Regions from separate parts of the Homo sapiens genome. Here region 1 is linked to region 2. The links are contacts of gene promoters, found by promoter capture Hi-C in blood cells and fetal thymus (Javierre and others, 2016). All regions are on one chromosome and are shown on one strand. Each heading gives the region's core, a stretch centred on a gene start or on the middle of the fragment in contact. The rest is flanking DNA. Distances are from core to core; before and after follow the strand shown. Region 1 holds the start of LYPLA1-TCEA1 (LYPLA1-TCEA1 readthrough). Region 2 holds the start of MAK16 (MAK16 homolog).

What was found. The method cuts DNA at HindIII sites, captures the fragments that hold promoters and counts their contacts. A CHiCAGO score of 5 or more calls a contact.
Region 1: a contact is called between a fragment that was not itself captured here and the fragment with the promoter of MAK16 in region 2, in 1 of 17 cell types (non-activated CD4 T cells). The highest score is 6.7, in non-activated CD4 T cells.

Annotation. Positions count from the first base shown.
Region 1 is chr8:54,098,497-54,102,089 of GRCh38, forward strand. It overlaps LYPLA1-TCEA1 (LYPLA1-TCEA1 readthrough), which reads right to left and starts at 3,451. Exons shown (of 21, transcript NM_001425842.1): 1 at 3,259-3,451; 2 at 2,412-2,443. LYPLA1 (lysophospholipase 1) reads right to left here and starts at 3,451. Exons shown (of 9, transcript NM_006330.4): 1 at 3,259-3,451; 2 at 2,412-2,443. The coding sequence starts at 3,327. RefSeq lists a silencer at 3,005-3,574. The HindIII fragment of the contact is 1,126 bases long and covers 1,661-2,786 here.
Region 2 is chr8:33,483,256-33,486,919 of GRCh38, forward strand. It overlaps MAK16 (MAK16 homolog), which reads left to right and starts at 1,927. Exons shown (of 10, transcript NM_032509.4): 1 at 1,927-1,966. The coding sequence starts at 1,952. RefSeq lists enhancers at 1,083-1,719, 1,707-1,856 and silencers at 1,347-1,536, 1,747-1,934. The HindIII fragment of the contact is 3,746 bases long and covers 77-3,664 here.

The DNA of each region.
Region 1 (3,593 bases), core at 974-3,473, about 21 Mb after region 2:
GGCAAAACCCCATCTCTACTAAAAATACAAAAAAATTAGCTGGACGTGGTAGCACGCGCCTGTAATCTCAGCTACGCCGGAGGCCGAGGCACAAGAATCACTTGAACCCGAGTGGCAGAGGTTGAAGGGAGCCGAGATCGTGCCACTGCACTCCAGCCTGGGTGACAGAGTGAGACTCCATCTCAAAAAATAATAATAAAATAAATAAAAAAGAATGGTGTACAATTTTAAACTTATAAAGTATTTCTGGAATTTTTCATTTAGTATTTTCAAACCACAGTTAACCACGGGTAACTGAAACCATGGGAAGCAAAACTGCAGGTAAGGGGAGACTACAATATCTTAAGTATTAAATTGCCACTTGTCAGGCTGACAGGTTCGAAGTTTCATCATGCACTCATGGAACCAATCTAGAGTCAGCCTTTCCTTAGCATTATCCCACCAAATAATTTCAGAACTGGAGACCTTTGTTTTTTCTTTTATCACAACAGGTTAAAAAGAAGGATACTTTTTTAATATAAACTTAACTTTTGGTCAAGATGTAATGGATGTTCTTGGTATTTTTGATCCTAATAGTCTTCACCATTTTTACTTTTAGCTTCAGTCTGTGGAATCTGCCTAGACTGAAGTTTTTTTTTTTTTGCTTGAACTAATCATTCAGGCATAGAAGTGCTCATTATTGGCAAAGTTAGAGGATAGCAACCTTCTCCCTGACTTGCAACATCAAGAAAGGTTTGGCCATAAAATAGAGATTCTGCTATTCGAGTTTCATTTGGTAAAATAAGTTCATCATTTTCACAGGACCACTGGATTGCCAGAAAGAGTGCTGCAACCTTTTCTGTAACTCCATACAAAGTTTGTATTACATAACTCGACTTATTAGGCAAAAAATAGGAATCACTTTTAAGTGGTGGCTCACGCCTGTAATCCCAGCACTTTGGGAGGCTCAGGTGGGTGGATCATTTGAGGTCAGGAGTTCGAGACCAGCGTAACCAACATGGCAAAACTCTGTCTCTACTAAAAATACAAAAATTAGCTGGCATGGTGGCAAGCAACTGTAGTCCCAGCTACTCGGGAGACCCAGGAACCCAGAAGGTGGAGGTTGCAGTGAGTCAAGATCACGCCACTGCCCTCCAGCCAGGGCAACACAGCAGACCCTGTCTCCAAACAAACAAACAAAAATCTAGCCTAATGGCATTTTTTTTTTTTTTGAGTCTCACTCTGTGGCCCAGGCTGGAGTGCAGTCGTGCAATCTTGGCTCACTGAAGCCTCTGCCTCCCAGGTTCAAGTGATTCTCTTCTCTCAGCCTCCCTAGCAGCTGGGATTACAGGCATGCACCACCACACCCGGGTAATTTTTATATTTTTAGTAGAGATGGGGTTTCACCATATTGGCCAAGCTGGTGTCGAACTCTTGACATCAAGTGAACTACCCACCTCGGCCTCCCAAAGTGCTGGGATTACAGGTGTGAGCCACCGCGCCCGGCCCCAATGGTTCATTTTAAAGAAAATTTAGTCGTTCTGGGGCTACTTTATCAAAATTTATTTATCTTCAGTTTTCCTCTATTTCTGCAATTTTTCAACAACATTCATATTTTGCTTAAGTTTCACAGATTATCACCAATTTAAATATAAAAACAAAAACATCTCAATATAGAAAAAGCTTGAGTAAAAGATAAATCATGTATCTAAAGTTAGTACAAAAGGCCAGGCTCAGGCAGCTCCCACCTCTAATCTCTGTGCTTTGAGAGGCTGAGGCTGAAGGATCACTTGAGCCCAGGAGTTCAAAGCTGCAGTGAGCTAAGATCCTGCAACTGCACTCCAGCCTGGGCGACAGAGAGAGCCCTTGTCTCTAAAAATAATAACAAAAGAAAAAAGCAAACAAACAAAAAATAAAATAAAAATAAGTAGTTAGTACAACAAATTGTTTGATAAGCCTCCAAATAAATCTTTGAGTTGCCTCCCCTGCCTTTCAACTCATTAGAGTGAACATCTAATCCCTCTATTCAGAATGCTGCATGCCTTATGTTGCCACTAGTTCTCTTATCAAAATCAACTAGTTCTTCTCTTCAATCTGCTCTGAAATTTTAACTGCTCTGGAAAGCTCTCAATTGCACACCGTCCCTACTAACATTCCACGGATCTCTGGTATCCAATACCCAAAGCAACTAATGAGGAATTTGAAATTTTAATATGTTCCAGAAACCAGAGTTAAAAAATCAATAAACTCACGATGATAAGGGGAAAATTCTGAGGGTTTTCAAAACATAAAATCACCGCACTGTAAGATACATTAACTGGCAATCTTAAAATACCATTTTAGCGCCCTTAAACATTAAACCTTTGAACGCGTAAACAAAAGTTGCATGACCCAGTTTCATTACTGTTACTATTAATAATAATGGTACCTACCCAGTATCTCCCAATCCATGCAGGAAAATCACCTATAAGAGAAGAGGAAAATTAATAAGCAATGCCTAAATAAGCCCACACAGGATTGTTACACACTAGCTTTGCTTAAGGTGGAAAACGGAACGAAACCTACGAGAGAATTACACAACACTATCTTCGGCGACTTAATCTTTATCGACCTCTTTTAAATGGCAAAAATTCTGATCAACTTCTCCCTTTATTTCCTGAGATAATGAATGGGGGGGGGGTAGCACTGAGAGGTCCCAGTTAGACATTGAGTGCAAATGATCACATTCTAAGAAAAACAGTTTATCTCTTTCAAGTGAAATCAGGAACATCTCACATATCCTGTAGAATTTTTCCACTGCAAAAGCAAGCTTCCGGAGGCAAAAATAAGTTTGACTTTTCATACACGAGTTTTCTAAAAAACAGTACGTCTGACCTTGTAGGACACTCAATCTTCAAACTTCTTTCATTGAGGATAAGAGTGCGAGGTGACAATAAGGCGATTTCCTGGCGGACTTAGGTTTCCCTCACCCACACACCAGGCAGAAACACGCTGCAGAGGCTGACGCCGTGCCCTAGGCCGGCCCGCGGGGGTCCCGGGGCCACACTTCCTCCGCAATGCAGGGAGGAGCTGGGGACTGGCCCTCGCGCCGGCTGTGACCCCCCGGCTGCCCCCGCCCCCCGCGGACCCGGCCGCGCGGACCATTCGCACCCCACCCGGGCCGGGAGGAGCGTCCTCGTCCGCAGGCCGCCACGCGCCCGCAACGCCCACCCCGCGCGAGGGGCAACCACCGGTGGCCGGCCCAGTGGACCCCTCCGAGCCCACGCCTACGCCACTCACCGCAGCGGTGGCCTTCCGGGCGGCGGGCACGATGGCGGGCAGCGGGGTTGACATGTTATTGCCGCACATACACCGCCTCAGCTCACAGCGCAAGCGGAAGGAAGAGCGGGCGCCCGGCCGCGGCCCAAGGGCGTGCGAGCGGCGAGTCCCGGCCGGCCCCACCGGGCGCACGCTCAGGCGCGTGCGCGCCAACGCGGCCCCGCGCTACCTTCCGCGCGCGCCCGCGCGTCCAGGGTCCGCCCTGCCCTGCCCCTCGCCCGCCGCCCCTCCCTCGGCACCTCACAATGTCCGGGCGGCTCCCTCCCTCCGATTGGCTGCGGCGGCAGCGCGGACCT
Region 2 (3,664 bases), core at 677-3,176:
GACCCAAGAGAGGGTTCTTGGATCTTAAGCAAGAAAGAATTTGAGGTGAGTCCATAAGTTTCGTAAAGTGAAAGCAAGCTTATTAAGAAAGTAAAGGAATGAAAGAATGGCTACTGCATAGGCAGAGCGGCACCGAGGGCTGCTGGTTGCCCATTTTTATCGCTATTTGTTCATGTATTTTTTGAGACTGATTCTTGCTCTGTTGCCCAGGCTGAAGTGCAGCGGCTTGATCTCAGCTCACTGTAATCTCTGCCTCCCAGATTCAAGTGATTCTCCTGCCTCAGCCTCCCAAGTAGCGGGGACTACAGGTGCCCACCACCACGCCTGGTTAAGTTTTGTATTTTTAGTAGAGATGGGGTTTCACCACGTTGGCCCGTCTGGTCTTGAACTTCTGACCTCGGGTGATCCACCTGCCTCGGCCTCCCAAAATGCTGATTACAGGCGTGAGCCACCAAGCCCAGCCTATTTATTGATTATATGCTAAACACGGAGCGGATTACTTACGCCTCTCCTTTTTAGACCATATAGAGTAATTTCCTGATGTTGCCATGGCATTTGTGGCGCCAGTGGGAGTGTAGCAGTGAGGACGACCAGAGGTCAAACTCATTGCCATCTTGGTTTTGTGGGTCTTGACTGGCTTCTTTACTGCAATCTGTTTTATCAGCAACATCCTTATGACCTGTATTTTGTGCTGACCTCATCCTGTGATTTAGATGGCCTGACCCTCGGGAATGCAGCCTAGCAGATCTCAGCCTTATTTTACCCAGCCACTATTCAAGATGGGGTTGCTCTGGTTCAAATGCCTCTTGACAGTCTTTCTTTCCTTTTCTTTTTTCTTTTTCTTTTTTTTTTTTTGAGAGGTAGTTTTGGTTGTCACCCAGGCTGGAGGGCCACAGCATGATCTCGGCTCACTGCAACCTCCGCCTCCCGGGTTCAAGCGATTCTCCTGCCTCAGCCTCCCAAGTAGCTGGGATTACAGGCACCTGCTACCACGCCCGACTAATTTTTGTATTTTTAGTAGAGACGGGATTTCACTATGTTGGCCAGGCTGGTCTGGAACTCGCCCGCCTAGGCCGCCCAAAGTGCTGAGGTACAGGCGAGAGCCACCGCGCCCGGCCCGGCCGACAGTCTTTCTTCTATAATACGATACAAACTAGTAAAGATTTTCTTTTTCCCCTGGCGGAAAAGAGCTGTTAGGCTTCCAGATTTGTTTTTGTGGGTTATTAGACCTCTACTTTTCTTCTTGGTATTTTCCCTCCCTTATCAACTTTGTTTGTTGTCTCAAATAGGCAATGAGGAAGACACAGGTGTTTATTATTATTGGAATGCTCTTTCCATTTGGTCAGTGGTTTCTCAAAGCAGGAGGAATTCAAGTTCTGAGTTTCTAAAGTCAGGACCCGGTGCCGCACCCAACGTGGGCGTGGGGAGTGGCTAAGTCAGGGTCTGAGGGGCAGGGCCGGGGCCTGGCTGCGAGCTGGGGCCGGGGGACTCGGAGGAGCGGGGACCCAGCCCCGCCGCGCCGCCTGCAGCTTTCCCCAGCCTCCTCCCAGCAGAGGGGAGGCCCGACAGGGAGGGGTCCCATCCTCATGAACGGTCACAAACAGGGCGCTAGGGAAGCACGCCCGACCCCCGCGGTCCCCGCGCTCCAGGATTCGGCAGACTGCGCGCGTCCTGCCTCCCGCGGATCGCACTGGGTCCCAACAGGGTTCCCAGCTCCAGGCTGCGCCCATGAACAAGCCCAGCATTGCGGACGGGCGCGCGCAGACGCCAGCGTGGTGAAGACGCGGGGGCGCGCGCGCGGCGACGAGACTGCCAGGGGACGCTTCGCAACACCGAGAGTCTCAGCGTTTCTCGAGATAGGTGAGGCTGCGCGTTCCGGAACTGGTTTCCCGGAAGGAGCATGTCTGCGCCCGCGATCCGACCGGAAGTTGCACGCTGAGCCGCGGACACCATGCAGTCGGATGATGTGAGTCTCCTCCGGTTGTTCTTACACCCGGGGTTTGCGCAGGGAATTTTGCCCATTTTCGGACACTTAGAAAACGCGTACGCAGCGGGTCTGTTGCCTCGTGCCGCTCTGGATGTGAGGCTTCCGGAACCCCGATTTTCCAACATAGGTTCTCACGCGTGTCTAGCAGGGGTTTACTGCCCGCTGCCCCGGCCGGGTTGTGAGCACAGGACTCCGTCACCTCAGCCCATGGGGTCGATGTGTCCCGTCCTTCGTGCCTACCAATGCAGGACGTCGCGTCATGCTGTCAGCTGTCAGCTGTCAGCTCCGGACTTGGGGTGGGGGGCGGCCCGGGATTTGGCGAAGCTGACTCCAAGTTTAAGCGTCCTTCTCATCCATGTGCGCGTTACTCTTCCATCTGCGTTTCCTGTGTAGGCTTTTCTTTACATTTGCTCTACTTCTGCCTAAGTCATAATTTCGGAAGTATCCTAGATTCATTCATTGAGTTTTTTGTTGGAGAAATAACAGTGTGCTTACAGTGTGCCAGGCATTGTGGTAATTATTGAGGATTTGGTTAACCAGAAAAAATGTCCCACCTCTCCTGGAACACTGATGGGGGAGACACAGTAAACAAGTGAACAAATAAGTTAACAATTACACTATATAATCATACTATGAAAGAAAGACCAGAGATGATGAAGGACACTTCAGATAGGGTTACTCAGGGAAGGTTTCTCTGAACAGAAGATGTTTGAGTTGAGATCTAAAAGATAAGAATAAGCCAGTCACTGAGGAGCTGAGGAAAAAGCAATCCAGGCAGTAGGAACAGTAAAGTACAAAGAGTTGAAGATATGAGAGAATGAATATAAGGGTCATCAAAGTGACAATGTAAGACAGGTAATGAAATTAGATATGCTTGCCAGGGCGAGGTCATGCAGAATCTTGTAGGAAGTGTTTTTTAGGCCTTTTAATGATCTATGTTTGTGAAAAGTTGTCTAGTTGCTGTGTGAAGGACTTTTGGAGGGAAAAAATGAAAGCAAGGAGACTAGGGTATGACAAAGGTTGCTTCAAGCCAGACACAGTGGCTCATGCCTGTAATCCCAACGCTTTGGGAGGCTGGGGCTGGAGGATCGCTTGAGGCCAGGAGTTCGATTCCAGCCTAGGCAATAAAGTGAGACTCCATCTCTACAAAAAATAAAAAATTAGCTGGGCGCGGTGGTGTTCGCCTGAGGTCCCAGTTACTTCGAAGGCTGAGGCAGAAGGACTACTTGAGCCGAAAAGTCCGAGGCTGCAGTGAGCTATGATGGCACCACTGCACTCCAGCCTGGGTGACAGAGAGACCCTATCTCTAAAGTAAATAAATTTTTTTAAAAACGAAAGTGGCTTCGCCTAAGGTAGTAATTTAATGGTGGAGATGAAAAGAAATTGATGAATTTGAGACCTTTTACGTCAGTATAATTGACAAGACTTTGGTGATGGATTAAGTGAAGAAGAAAAGGAAGAAATCAAAGGATTTGGGATATAAATACATAGTTAAATGGTGATTTTATTTATTGAAGTGGGGGAACTCTAGGGAAGACTGTTCTTACGAGGGATGTGGAATTGAGAACTCCTTGTGGATATGTTAATATTTATGTTGCCTTTTAGATATTGAAGAGATGTCATATAAAAATCTGGTGCTCAGGAAAGAAGTCTGACCAGAAAATAACAATTTAGGAG